Regions from separate parts of the Homo sapiens genome. Here regions 1, 2, 3 and 4 are each linked to region 5. Evidence: promoter capture Hi-C in 16 types of primary human blood cells and fetal thymus (Javierre and others, 2016). All regions are on one chromosome and are shown on one strand. The core of a region is centred on a gene start or on the middle of the fragment in contact, and the rest is flanking DNA. Distances in the headings are between cores, read along the strand shown. Region 1 overlaps TNIP2 (TNFAIP3 interacting protein 2). Region 2 overlaps FAM193A (family with sequence similarity 193 member A). Region 3 overlaps FAM193A (family with sequence similarity 193 member A). Region 4 overlaps SH3BP2 (SH3 domain binding protein 2). Region 5 holds the start of SLC75A1 (solute carrier family 75 member 1).

Region 1 (2,700 bases), core at 11-2,510, 190 kb after region 5:
TTAGGGTGCTGAGGCAAGAGGATCACTTGAGTCTGGGAGGTGGAGGCTACAGTGAACCATGGTGGCACCACTGTACTCCAGCCTGGGTGACAGGGCGAGACCCTATCTCAAAATAAAATTGTCATTTTAAGAACCTTTTTAAATTCTTTAAGAAGTAATTGGGGTTGGGTGTGTTAATTTCCTAGAGCTGCTGTAACAAAGTAACACAAACTGGGGGGCTTCAAGCAACAGAAATTTAATCTTTCACAGTTCTAGAGGCCAGAAGCCAGAAACCAAGGCATCGGCTCTCTCTCAAGGTTCTAGGGAAGGACCCTTCCTCGCCTCTTCAGCTTCCTGTGGGGGCCACCAATCCTTGGTGTTCCTTGGCCTTTATCCACAAGACAAGACGTCACTCCTATCTTTGTTGTCACGTGGTCGTCTTCTCTCTGTGTGTCTGTCCAGACTTCTGTCTGCTTACAAGGACACCAGTCCCGTCCTAATCCATTTTGTCCCCACCTTAACTAATTACATCTGCAAAGACCCTATCTCTAAGTAAGGTTTCATTCCCAGATACCGGGGAATGGGAGGTTTGGTTGTGGACATCTTTTTGGGGTTACCCACCACAGTGGAGTTTCTACCTATCCCATCAAAAAAGTGCTTGGAATTGCCACTTTGATAATTTGATGATAACTGGGTGTGGTGGCTTGAGCCTGTAGTCCCAGCTATTCAGGAGGCTGAGGTGGGAGGATTTGCTTGAGCCTAGGAGTTTAAGACCAGCTTGGGCTATATATAGCGAAACCCTCATCTCAAAAAAACATTTTGATGATATGAAATCTAAAATTATGAACTTGCTTGTGAAAATAGAATTTGGCAGGGCGTGGTGGCTCACACCTGTCATCCCAGCACTTTGGGAAGCCAAGGCGGGTGGATCTCTTGAGCCCAGGAGTTCAAGACCAGCCTGAGCATCACAGCAAAACCCTGTCTCTACAAAATACAAAAAAGTTAACCAGGCACGGTGGCACGTGCCTGTAGTCCCAGCTACTCAGGTTAGGATGGAGAATCGCTTGGGCCTGGGGAGGTCGAGGCTGCAGTGAGCCATGATTGTGCCACTGCACTCTAGCCTGGGTGACAGTGAGACCCTGCCTCAAAAAAAAAAAAAAAAAAATTGCTGGGCGCAGTGGCTCACGCCTATAATCCCAGTACTTTGGGAGGCCAAGGCTGGCGGATCATCTAAGGTCAGGAATTCGAGATTAGCCTGGCCAACATGGTGAAACCCCGTCTCTACTAAAAATATAAAAATTGGGCCAGGCGTGGTGGCTCACGCCTGTAATCCCAGCACTTTGGGAGGCTGAGGTGGGCGGATGCCGAGGTAGGCGGATCATGAGGTCAGGAGATCGAGACCATCCTGGCTAACATGGTGAAACCCCATCTCTACTAAAAATACAAAAAATTAGCTGGGCGTGGTGGCGTGTGCCTGTAGTCCCAGCTACTCGGAAGGCTGAGGCAGGAGAATGGTGTGAACCTCTGAGGCGGAGCTTGCAGTGAGCTGAGATCGCTCCACTGCACTCGAGCCTGAGCGACAGAGCGAGACTCCGTCTCAAAAAAAAAAAAAATTCTTTTAGCTGGGCTTGGTGGTGGGCTCTATAATCCCAGCTACTGAGGAGGCTGAGGTGGGAGAATCGCTTGAACCTGGGAGGTGGAGGTTGCAGCGAGCCAAGATTGTGCCATTGCACTCCAGCCTGGGCAACAGAGTGAAACTCTGTCTCAAAAAAAAAAAAAATTTGAGATGAAGTTTCAGAACAGAACATTGTAGGCTGAAAAACTCCAGAGTTAATAGTTCAAATGCCCAACTTCTGAGTGAGTAATTGTTAGTTCAAACGCCCAACTTCTGAGTGAGTATGTTTGTGTCTGGTGATGGGGCATCCACGCCAGGTCTTCTTTTGCTTTCTGAACATTTGCTCTTGACACTGCTTCTTTTAATTCAGTAAACTGTGCTTTTAAATCTTCCACTTAGGAAATTGAGAGGCTGACTGAGCGACTAGAAGAAAAAGAGAGGGAGATGCAGCAGCTGCTGAGCCAGCCCCAACACGAGCGAGAGAAGGAAGTCGTCCTGCTACGGAGGAGCATGGCAGAAGGGGAGCGCGCCCGGGCCGCCAGTGACGTCCTGTGCCGCTCCTTGGCCAACGAGACCCATCAGCTGCGGAGGACGCTGACCGCCACCGCCCACATGTGTCAGCATCTGGCCAAGTGTCTGGATGAACGACAGCATGCACAAAGGAATGTGGGGGAGAGAAGTCCTGACCAGGTAGGCCACAGTGTAAGCAGAGTGTGGGGAAGACCTCTGTGTGCTGGGAGCATCGCCTACAGGCCCCTGATCACAGAGGTGGGGGGGCGCCCCAGAACCCACTTCTGTTCTCAGTAACGAGAGTCAGCTGACGGGGCAAAGCTCACTCATCCAAGGGTTTCTTTTAAAATGATGGAACATGCAAAATGTAATAGGAAAGCAGGCAGCCACCTCACTGCCCAGCACCAGGCCTGTGGCCGACCCCGCTCCCAGGTGGGAGATGGCACTTGGCTTTCATCTGCCTCAGCTGAGGATGAGGAGGAGGAGCTGAGCCTGGCAGAGCTGCCTGGAGGAAGTGTAGTCACATCCTCCATCCGAGGAAACTGAAGCAGAGCCAGGTGGTACTGCTGGGGATGGGGAGTGCCTCCAGTTCCACA
Region 2 (2,700 bases), core at 187-2,686, 230 kb after region 5:
GCTTAAAGGCTGGTAGGGCCGCATCAAATGGTCTAAGGAAAAAGCCATTCCGAGGGGGCTCCCACTGACCGAATCTCAGACAATCAAAACAGCAACATAAAGAGTGTTCGTAAAAGATTCTCATCTATAGCATCAAGTAAAACTTCGTGGATCTATCCTGATATAACTAAGTGAATGAAAAAAACACATGAGGTTGGAAAGCTCTTCCTACAGTTGAATGGCAAGTAACAAATATAGAAAGAATAATATTAGAAAATTCACCATTTGGGCCAGGGGTGGCAGCTCACGCCTGTAATCCCAGCACTTTGGGAGGCTGAGGCAGGCGGATCAACTGAGGTCGGGAGTTTGAGACCAGCCTGACCAACAAGGTGAAATCCCATCTCTACTACACAAAATTAGCCGGGTGTGGTGGTGCATGCCTGTAATCCCAGCTACTTGAGAGGCTGAGGCAGGAGAATCGCTTGAACCCGGGAAGCGGAGGTTGTGGTGAGCTGAGATCGTGCCACTGCACTCCAGCCTGGACAACAAGAGCGAAACTCCATCTCAAAAAAAAAAAAAAATCACCATATGACAACACAGTAATAAACATTTCCGGCAAGAATCATTAATGGATGCTACAACTAGTCGGTGAATGTTCAATAAAAACAGGATACTCATTTCCCCATAAGACACTTACTAATTAGCAAAGGAGAAATATTAACTTGACCGTAGTGAAAATGGGCAGACCAGCTCAACCCAGGATCAGAGTTCCCATCCCCAGTGATGGGACAGACACCGTCACCCACTTCCTGGTGGGATATACCAACAGGGACTGGCCACATCAGTGGTGTTGCCGCCAAAACATGGTATCTGAACCTGACTGGGAAGACATGGGGCATGCACCCTGACCAAGGGATCCTCTAAAAAATAAATGCGCTGCACTCTTCAAAAAAGTAAAGGTCATGAAAAACAGAGAAACCGATCCAAAGGAAAGGAAATTAAAGAGATACGACATGGGATCCTGGATTGGATCCCATGTCAGGAGAAACAACAAGAGCTTTTTTTTTTTTTTTTTGCTATAAAGGATGTTAAAAGGACAATTGGAGAAACATGAGTAAGGTCTACAATTAGAGAATAGCATTGGATCAGTGTCAACTTCTTCATTTTGATCACTGTACTGTGGTTTTATAAGTGTCTTTATCTTGAGGAAATATACATGGAAGTATTTTAGGTTAAAGGGGTATCATGTATGAAGTGACTCTCCTTCTGTCCAGAAAAATAAGAGAGAGAGGGAGAGAGAGAATAACGAAGCAAACATGGGAAATACTGATGTTGGGGAACTAAAGTTGGGGAACTGGAGGGGGTAGAAATCCTCTCTCTCTCTATATGTATTTTTTGAGATGGAGTCTCTCTGTCACCCACGCTGGAGTGCAACGGCATGATCTTGGCTCACTGCAATCTCTGCCTCCTGGGTTCAAGCGATTCTCCTGCCTCAGCCTCCCCGAGTAGCTAGGATTACAGGTGCACCACCAAGCCCAGCTAATTTTTTTTTGTTATTTTTAGTAGAGACAGGGTTTCAGCATGTTGGCCAAGCTGGTCTCGAACTCTTAACCTCTGGTGATCTGCCCACCCTGGCCTCACAAAGTGCTGGGATTACAGGTGTGAGCCACCATGCCTGGCCCCTCTACGCTCTTTTCTACAGGAGGGAGGCCACATGGCGAGAGCATGCCAAACCCAGTGTTTTCCTATACTAGCACATCACACATGGAAAACCAGGCATCGCTCAGAAATACCTTCCCGCTATTCTGTATTTACCAATTGAATTGTTGACTCTGTCTCCTTTCTTCTTCTTATTTTTCTTGTTCTTGCCCTTTGGCTGAGGGGACTCTGCCAGCACCAGCTTGCTGTTCTGCTGATGCTCACCGGGAGAGGTGGGCTCCATAGGGGTTGGGTTTGACTTTTCGTCCTTGATGTGGTTCAGCTGCTTTTTGTTATTGTTATTACTGTTGACTTTTCTCTCCTCTCTTTTCTGCTCTGTGATGGACATGAGGTCGACCACCTTAGCCTTTGACTCAGTCTGGGCCCGGGGCTTGGACTGCCCCTCTGTGGCCTTGGGGGGCTCTGTGGGCCTCCTCGCTGGCTCGCTGCTGGCCTTGCTGGTCTGCCTCAGCTTCTGCTTGCCATTTCCTTCTTTATGGTGCTGCATGATGTCGAAGAAAAAAGAGAGTGGCTCATGCTGCTTCCCATTCACCTCCTTGGGGAGGAGAAATTTGGAGTCTCTGGTGTCGACGGGGTCTGCAGCATCCCCATCAGCCCCTAGCCCTGGCCTGGGCTCTGAGTGGTTCATATGCCTGGATGGGGAGTGAGAAGAGGTTTCTGGTTCTTCAGTTTGCTCTAGTGAGCCATTGTGGATGTTTCCAGAGTTAGGAACAGACTCTGTTGCTGCCTGGAAATTTCTAGTGAGCATGTCCAACTTGGGGCAGTCTTTACTTGGCCTCTCCTTCTTCTTCTTTTTTACAGCTCTTAGCTTCTGAAGCTCCTGAAGCCGCTGAAATTCCTCCTTGAAACGATCCTCCTCTTCTTCCTCATCCTCCTCCTCCTCCCGCCGCCTCTGCTCCTCCTGGAGGTGCAGGTGCTCCCGGGCCCTGGCCTCTGCTTCTAGGCGAGCTTTCTCCTCCAGCTGCCAATGCAAAAAGAAGGCAATTTAAGACTACAGTGAGT
Region 3 (2,700 bases), core at 153-2,652, 200 kb after region 5:
GAAGGATGAGTGGTTTCCAGGGAAATAGAGGAAGATCCTTCCTGGCAAGGGCATGGCCAGGACAATGGCTGGGAGCCTGAGGGCCAAAGCTAGCAGGTGCAGGTCAGGGGCCAGAGCGGGCAGAGCTGTGAAGCCGCAGGCAGGGTTGCCATGGAGGTGATGGGAGTGCCCAGAACTGGGCATGTGCGGTGGGCGTCTGAGGGTCTCTAGGTCCCAGCATGATGCTTAGTGTGTCGGGGCACCCAGAGTTCCCCATCACCACTCAGGGCTGTGCAGTTCCCCTCAGCAACAGGCATGGTTCAGCACAGTGTTAAAGGCTGTCCATGGGGAGAGCAGGGCAGGTACTGGGGGCCTGGGCAGGCAGCTTCCCCATAGGGCGAGGCCCGGGCCTGGGCCTTTCCCCAGCCACCACCGCAGCCAGAAGAGGCAGCGGCTGGAGTCCCGGGGGCCTGCACTGGGGTTTCAAGGACACTACTGTTGCCGTGGTCATGGCCTGACCTGCTTCACTCTCTGCCCTATCATCCCACGAACAAAGGAACGTTCTCTTCCTCACACCTGGAAAAAAAAACAAGTGAGGAAAGTTCGTCGTGCTGCACCTCCCCTGGTTGGTGACCCTTTTCCAGCTTTCGTGCAATCTCCAGAGTTCTAGGACCTGCTGTCCCCACCTCATTCTCCTGCAAACCGGTGCCTGGGTGGGGGTGCCCTGGGCCTTGTCTCCCCTGACCTGCCTCGAAGCCTCCTCACCCTCCTCTGCCTTCCTGGTTCCACAGCTCGGGCCCCCATCCCATCTACTCACCCCTGCAGGGCCCTCACACAGGCTCTGTCCATGAACAGCAGTCCCCAGTTCCAGACCTCTCACCTGGGTGGCCGGTGGACATCCCAGACTCACCATCCAGAACTGGTCTCCAGTCCCACCTCCAGGCACACAGCGCAGGTCTTCACCTCTTTCTCCTACCTGCATCCTGTCCACCAGGAAATCCTGTGGCCTCATCGTCCGAATACCTCCAGAAGCTGGCTCTCCCTACCCTCTCCCCAACCAGGCCCTGCCCTATTCACCTTCACTCAGAGTGAAGTCATACTCTGATAGGGCACACAGAGACAGGCTGAACATGAGGCTGGGAGAAGTGGGAGCTACTGAGTGTTCTAGGTAGTAAGAAGTAACCAGGATGCAGCTCCTTGGGAGCTTTCTGTCTCCTGCTGCCTGCTCTGCCTGGCACACAGAGGATGGTGGGGGCACCAGGATGGGTGAGCCGTTGCCTGGAGAGACCTGGGACCTGCTCCGGGGTGGTGCCCTGGCTCCCCATGGCGGACACATCACCTACACGCCCTCTCCCGCTATCCCCCCACTCCCCCAGCAGAAAGAAGCAGCCGAGGTCTCCTGCTGTACTAATGTATTCCATCTTTCAAAAAGAAAGACATGATTTTAATATTACTTAACAATATGTTAAAAAAGTAGCCAGGCAGGCCTCCGTGTTAATACAGTCGTACACTCTATAACAGACTTGATGGTGTGAGTACTGGGTGGGCTTGTTTTTAACTTTCTCGTTCTGCAAGGGATCTTACACAAGCTGGCTACAAGTCAGGGGGATCAAACACAAACAGCGCAACGTGTACACTCGGAGACAGTAGATTGTGGAGAACAAAGGAGGCCTGCCCCGCCCAGCCCGCCTAGGGTGAGACGCAGGGGCACAGGAGAGCTGAGTGACGGCCGATACCCCGGTGAGGACACATGACAGGACAGGGCGCAATGCAGAGGCAACGGAGCCACGTGGATGATGCAAACTCCTATCTGGCCACGGCCCAGGCCTCCGAGGCCGCGGTGGTGGGAGGACTTGGCGGGAACTACTGTTCCAATCCGACAGCACAGAGCTACAATCGAAGGAGTCTCACGCACAGACTACACGCACACGAGCTAACGGCGTGGGCCGAGCATCAACTTCTCGGTCTGGGGTTTCAGGCAGCACCAGCTCCGCACAGCCCTTGGCAAGCACCACGGCTCTGGGGCGCCAGCGAGGGGCGTGGCTCTTGGGGTGGTGCAGCCTGGCCTGCCTCTCGCGTGTCCCTCTCCAGGGAGTCCTCATTCAGTGGGCAGCAAAGGTGGCTTTTTTCAAGCTAAAATTGGACCAGTTGATAGACAGTCTTTGTCGGGTCTGTCTAGCAGAATCCAAGCAGAACCTGCAAAGACAAAAAGCCAAACAGTCACTGAAGGAAACAGCCCACAACCAAGCTGGTGCTTGGCAAAGCCCATCACACTCCTGTTCTTGCCAGAAACTCACTGCGGGGTCAGGGGTTTAGATTCTCGGTGAGGGGCACAGTGTCAAGGGTCCCCTCCAGGCCCTGCTACAGGCTGCACTTGAGAAGGGGAAAGGACTCGGGAGGAGGAATGGGTGGGCGGAAGGAGTCCTGAGAAAGAAAAGAAACGTTTAATCTGAGAGCTGTGAGCGCCCTTAAATTATCAGGCCCAGGCAGGGTGTGGTGGCTCATACCTGTAATCCCAGCACTTTGGGAGGCTGAGGAGGGCAAATCACTTCAACTTAGGAGTTCGAGACCAGCCTGGGCAACATGGTGAAATCCTTTTTTTTTTGAGACAGGGTCTCACTCTCTTGCCCAGGCTGGAGTTCAGTGGCAGTTTCGGCTCACTGCAACCTCCACCTCCAAGGTTCAAGCAATTCTCTGCCTCAGCCTCCCAAGTAGCTAGGA
Region 4 (2,700 bases), core at 82-2,581, 130 kb after region 5:
CTCCTGCAGCATGAACAGACCTCGTCCACACCCCAGCTGGCTGGAACCCCTACTCTCCGTGGGGCCTAGCTCATGGGCTCATGTGCTGAATTACACCATCTGGCCAGCCCCAGGCACCCCACTTCTTCCATCTCGGGGGACCCCTGGCTGCAGGAGGGGGGCACTCCAGGGGCTCTGCACCCACCAAGCGCAGCCTGGGCCTCCAGGGTGACCTCCCGGCCCCAGCATCCTCATCGATAGGCAAGGGCAGCAGCAGTCACTGAGCAGATCAGCTGTGGCCGGGACACCCCACGCCCACACCAGCCTGGCTGCTGACCCTCCGGGCCCAGGGGGTGTGCTTAGGTAGGAAATCTGCCGGGCACCTTCCTCATCTAGAGGAAGCAGAAGCAGAGGGCTCCCGCCAACCAGACCCTCCTGGGATGCGTGGGACGCCTGGGCCACGGGCACAGTGGGTGTGAAGGTTGGGGGTGCTTCCCTGCCCACAGTCACCTCTTGTGATAGGAGGGCTAGGCTGCTGGACCAAGGGAGGGGCAGGGAGCCCCCAAGGAAATGTCCACTGTGTTCTGAGTGCGCCAGCTCTGTGCCCGCTCCATCGCCAACTGCTCGTTTTGTTCTCCCGATTAGGACCTCGAGGCTGAGTGAGCTGCAACGCTTGGCTACCCAGCCAGCGTGGCTAGTGTCACCCAGAGCCTGGGGCCACCTGGCCCACCCCTACAACACAACCTGAGGGTGCCCTGAAAGCCTTATGGCCCTGGCAGGGCCCCTACCAGGCATTTCCTGCTGAGCCTGGCTCTGGGGTGGGTAAGAAGGAGAGGAGAAACCCCAGGCCCACTCTCAGAAGGAAGCCCACCAACCTTAAGGACAGTGGGGGTGGGCCCTGGCCTCTGTGGAGGGGGCAGGGCTCTGGGTAGGAGGCCAGGGGACACAGGGTGGGCCACGCCATGTGGGGTACAGGGAGGAAGCTACCGCAGGGCCCAGCTCAGCAGGACAGGAAGGCCTGGGGAAGCAGGGGCTCCAGCCCACCCTTGAGGAGTTAGGAGCTGCTTCTGTTTTAAACTGATCCCAAGAGCCCCTGGGGAGGCTGGTTGGGAAGCTCTCCCAGGCCACAGCCCCCTTTTGGGTCCCGCTCAATGCTGCTGGTTCCCTTGAAGAAAGAGTGGTCTGGTGCTCACCCTAGAGAAAACTCGGGCAAAGAAGCAGAGCTCCAGTCCTCAGTTTCCCCAGGAGTAACTGGGGCAGTCCCGGAGCTGCTGGACCCAGGACTTAGTGCTGAGGCTGCACAGAGGGCGGGGTCCACGCATCCGCAGAGACTCGGATGAGGAACAGGAGCAGGCGGTGCCGGGACAGAAGGAGACCCCCAGAGAGTTGCAGTGGAACCCACCAGGCAGCTGAGGAAACCGAGAGCAGGAAACCGAGGCCAGGGAATGGTGGAAGGTAGCCCACCTATTCAGTGGGCTCGGCTGGAGTCATGGTGAGGCTGGTCAGCCGGACCCTGTCTCTCTTGCACAGTGTCACTCCACTCGGCCTGAAGTCTCATGGTATCGGGCACAGGGGAGGCACTCAGGCACAGCACCTACAGGCAAACGCCACACCCTGCACCCGGGATCCAAGCTACTGTCACCCTCTGTCTGGGCTCCCAATCTGTTAGGGAGGCAGCCACCTCTGACTCACATCCTTGTGACATCTGTTCCACCCAGACACGTTGACACATCCGCCAGCGTCCTGGGAGCAATCTTCCACATGAGTTAGCCAAGCATGGGATTACATAGAGTCAGACAGAGCATAGCTTGTGCAAAGGCCCTGGGGTTGCAGGTAAGAGAAGGCACCCACCTTCTGACATGAGAGACAGAGGTGGGTCTTAGTTAGAACTGCCAGTCCAGGCCACATGCCCAGGTGAGGCAGACAGCATCTCAGACCTTCCCTGGGATGAGCTCCTGGGCACCATTCACGCCTGGGCTCCAGTCCCAGCCTTGGTCCCTTAAGCTGGAGACTAGGGGCAAGTCACTTCACTCCCTGAGCCTTGCTCCGTCCTCCCCCTCCACGCTTATTAGCAACAGGACTCTGAGGACCAAACCAGACAGCTCCCAAGCACTCTGCCATAGGCACTTGGCCCAGCACTGGGTCCCTAGGCCCTGGAAGTGGACAGCACCCTGCTTATCCCGGATCCCAGCACCAGGGCGAGATAACAAGGGAACAGAGTGGAGATGCCGAGGCCCTGGGGCTCCTGCTGGGGTGGCATGCAGTAGGGGCGCCAGTCAGAGAAACCCAGCCCCACTGCTCCCACCCAGAGCCAACGGCAGAGGTCAGGAGCCACCACGATGGGCACCCTGTGTAGGCAGCTGTGTAAGCCCTACAGGGTGGGCCTTGGGACCGTATAGCAGTAAGTGGCCTGAGAGCCCTGCGCCGCCTGTCCCTTTCACTCATCACCGTGGTACTTTTCGTACCGTGGCGGTCTTGGCGGCCTCCCTTGGACCGCACAAAACCATGCAGCTCCTGCACACACCTCGGGCTCAGCCCAGGCACTTTACGGCGTTTTATCTGGACAAGCTCCTGGGTCAGGGCAAAGGACGCTGGGGCCCAGGCGTGGCCCCCATCATGGCTCCTCTGTGCACCACTGAGGGTCCTTGGGCCCCTCGCTTACCCAGGAACCCTGTCACCATCTGTCAGCGGGTGCCACAGGCTGGGACCCACCAAGGCTGA
Region 5 (2,700 bases), core at 74-2,573:
TGATCTTAGGCTTTACGATGGTGATGTTATCGCCAGGAGCAGTTTGGGGAGGGTCAGAATCCTGTAGCCTCCCGCTGCGTGACTCTTCAACCGTAGTTTCTAATCTTGTGGCTAATCTGTTGGTCCCACAAAAGCAGGCTAATCCCCAGGAAAGGTTTCCTTTGGGAAAGGGCTGTTATCATCTTTGTTTTAAACTAAGTTCCTCCCACAGTTCAACCTGCGTGCAGCAGTAAACAAGGAGGGCATGGAGGTTAGAAGCAAAATGGAGCTGGTTATCTCACTGTCGGCAAATTTTGCAATGGCAGTTTCATAGAGATGCCTGTCCTCTGGGAAAAAAGCTAATAACAGGTTGTCTTTTTGGCTGCAGGTGGAAAACTGCATCTATTAGGAAGAGGTGGGGCTTTGTTCTTACCCACAATTGGAAGTTCTCTATGGAGTAAAGGCGGTATGTGTGCCACCTGATTCCTTTCCCCATGTGTATCTGGTTAGGGTCGGCCACGTGAGATCCGCAAGCATTTTAGAAGGTGGGAGGGGAGGTGGGAGCTGGCTACAGGCCAGGCGTTGGCGTGGTTCCGTGAGTGTGCTCCAGCCAGGCCCAAAGCTTCTCCTGCCCAGAGGGACCGTTTCCTCCAGCGTGGGTCGGGTGCTTCTGCGCCCGGAAAGAGCGCCAGCTCCTCCTTCGGGTGACCCAGGGAGCGGGGCTGCAGGCAAAGGCGCAGGCGGCCAAAAAGGTGCCAACCGGGTCCTGTGGCTTTCAGTTGTCTCTGCCCACCCAATTCACACCATCTTTCCCCCTCAGCCGCCTGTCCTGGGACTTCAGGCTCAGCACCAAACGCAGCAAAAGTAGGTGCACAGAGAGCGGGGTCAGCTCACGCAGCCCGAGCAGAATGGCTGTGCTGCCGCCCCAGGCCCGCGGCCACCGCTGTGTGTGTGGCAGGAGTCAGCCCCCCAGCGTGGGGCCCCGAAGCCCGCGGTCCTTCCACGGGGAGGGCCAGGCCCGCAGGGCGCAGACGATGGGGGACAGGCTGCGCCAGCGCTCGCCTGAGGCCCCGCACACAAACCTCAGGCCCATGGGTCCGCTCCGCGGGGCAGGCGTCGTGGGCCCAAGGAGGCCAGGCCAGGAGTCTCGGCCTCGGGGTTACGCGGCGGCGGGCAGCTCTTCCGCTCCGCTCAGGGTGCTGCTAACCCACAGCCAAGCAGCGACCCGCAGGACCGGCGAGAACCCCGCCACTGACTCCGGCCGGAAGAGAACGTGCAGAGATGTACGTCACTTCCGGGGCGTGGCGTGGCCGGGCGTGGCCGTCCCGCCCCTGGCGGCGTGCCTGGTGCCCTGTTCCGCGTCTGTGCGACCGTCCGTCCCGAGCGCGCAGCCGCGGCAGGTGCGGGGCGGGACCGGGGGCGCCCGGGGTGGGGGGCGTAGGGGGCGCTCGGGTTGGGGGTGGGACAGGGGACGCGCGGGGTGGGGGAGGAGACGGGACCCGGGGTACGCGGGGGTGGGGCGGGTGAGAGGTGCGCAGGGTAGGGGAGTAGGGGGCGCGCGGGGTGTGGGGCTGGACCAGGGGCGCGCGGGGTGGGGGCGGTGGGAGGCGCGCGGCGTGGGGGTTAGAGGGCGCGCAGGGTGGGGGACGGGACCGGGGACGCGCAGGGTGGGGGGCGGGACCGGGGGCGCGCGGGGTGGGGGCGGGACCGGGACGCACGCGGGATGGCGGAGTGGGAGGCGCGCGGGGTTGGGGGTGCTCCTGCGTCCGGTGTGCACCCCATGGCCCCCGCCAGGGAGACCGAGTCCGGGCCAGGGGCCGGAATCGCGGGGCGCGGGCCGGGGCTGGGGTTGGGGTTGGGATCGGGATCGGGATCGGGATCGGGATCCGGGTTCCCCGCGGCTTCAAGTTTTCTCTCGCTGTTACGAGGGCGTGGGAGGCGCGGCCGTGGGGTGGGGTGGGGCCAGGTCCGCGATGTGCTCACCCTGGTCTCTCAGGACCGTTGCCTTTGCGGCTATTTTTTGTGCAATCCCCGAAGCCTGCGTTTCCTGCTGCCTGGGTTCGGGGCGGGGGCATCGCGCAGGCCAGAACGGCCCCTGCGTCCGTAGGCCAGAGCCCCTGCCATCAGCCCCTTTAGGGTGCTCGCCGGCTGTCGGGTGTGGGGGTATGCCAGGCCCCGGAGGACTCGGCTTCCCCGCTAACCCGACCCGCCGCACCCCACCCAGGCCAGGTCAGAGCAGCCCACCATGGGATGGGGAGGGGGTGGAGGCTGCACCCCGCGCCCACCCATCCACCAGCAGCCGCCGGAGCGCCGCGTGGTCACCGTTGTCTTTCTCGGCCTCCTGCTGGACCTCCTGGCCTTCACGCTGCTGCTGCCCCTGCTGCCCGGGCTGTTGGAGAGCCACGGCCGTGCCCACGTGAGTCCTTGCCCTGCGGCCCACAGTGCCCCCTGCCCCCCAGGCCCATCAGACCTCCCCAGCCCTTATCGTGATTCCTCATCCCCTAGGACCCCCTCTATGGCTCCTGGCAGGGCGGGGTGGACTGGTTTGCCACCGCCATCGGGATGCCAGTGGAGAAGAGGTACAACAGTGTCCTGTTCGGAGGTATGGCTGGCTCTGTGCCCTTGGCGGGCTCTCTACGGTCCTATGTTTGGTGGACGTGGTCCAGCCCAGGCCCCTCCCCAATTCTCGGTCCTTGCCTTCCCACTCCCTGGGCTGGCATG

Evidence for each region. The method cuts DNA at HindIII sites, captures the fragments that hold promoters and counts their contacts. A CHiCAGO score of 5 or more calls a contact.
Region 1: a contact is called between a fragment that was not itself captured here and the fragment with the promoter of SLC75A1 in region 5, in 4 of 17 cell types (activated CD4 T cells, endothelial precursors, neutrophils and 1 more). The highest score is 7.0, in activated CD4 T cells.
Region 2: a contact is called between a fragment that was not itself captured here and the fragment with the promoter of SLC75A1 in region 5, in 1 of 17 cell types (total B cells). The highest score is 6.1, in total B cells.
Region 3: a fragment that was not itself captured here is called in contact with the fragment with the promoter of SLC75A1 in region 5 in 2 of 17 cell types (endothelial precursors and total B cells); the score reaches 5.6 in endothelial precursors.
Region 4: a fragment that was not itself captured here is called in contact with the fragment with the promoter of SLC75A1 in region 5 in 3 of 17 cell types (non-activated CD4 T cells, endothelial precursors and activated CD4 T cells); the score reaches 5.4 in non-activated CD4 T cells.

What each region holds. Positions count from the first base shown.
Region 1 is chr4:2,747,239-2,749,938 of GRCh38, reverse strand. TNIP2 (TNFAIP3 interacting protein 2) reads left to right here. Exons shown (of 6, transcript NM_024309.4): 2 at 1,994-2,284. Among named protein-coding and RNA genes, the nearest start is that of TNIP2, 7.7 kb to the left of the region's middle. RefSeq lists an enhancer at 2,102-2,151. The HindIII fragment of the contact is 3,160 bases long and covers 1-2,700 here.
Region 2 is chr4:2,699,639-2,702,338 of GRCh38, reverse strand. FAM193A (family with sequence similarity 193 member A) reads right to left here. Exons shown (of 21, transcript NM_001366318.2): 19 at 1,795-2,659. Among named protein-coding and RNA genes, the nearest start is that of TNIP2, 55 kb to the left of the region's middle. The HindIII fragment of the contact is 8,988 bases long and covers 1-2,700 here.
Region 3 is chr4:2,731,250-2,733,949 of GRCh38, reverse strand. FAM193A (family with sequence similarity 193 member A) reads right to left here. Exons shown (of 21, transcript NM_001366318.2): 21 at 1,377-2,175. The coding sequence ends at 2,082. Among named protein-coding and RNA genes, the nearest start is that of TNIP2, 24 kb to the left of the region's middle. The HindIII fragment of the contact is 3,689 bases long and covers 1-2,700 here.
Region 4 is chr4:2,802,833-2,805,532 of GRCh38, reverse strand. The region is part of intron 1 of SH3BP2 (SH3 domain binding protein 2); the gene reads right to left. Among named protein-coding and RNA genes, the nearest start is that of SH3BP2, 11 kb to the right of the region's middle. The HindIII fragment of the contact is 8,498 bases long and covers 1-2,700 here.
Region 5 is chr4:2,933,448-2,936,147 of GRCh38, reverse strand. It overlaps SLC75A1 (solute carrier family 75 member 1), which reads left to right and starts at 1,323. Exons shown (of 13, transcript NM_001146069.2): 1 at 1,323-1,379; 2 at 2,204-2,395; 3 at 2,485-2,581. The coding sequence starts at 2,225. It overlaps NOP14-AS1 (NOP14 antisense RNA 1), which reads right to left and starts at 602. Exons shown (of 4, transcript NR_015453.2): 1 at 1-602. RefSeq lists enhancers at 1-485, 1,743-2,610 and silencers at 874-983, 1,144-1,453, 1,683-1,902. The HindIII fragment of the contact is 5,918 bases long and covers 604-2,700 here.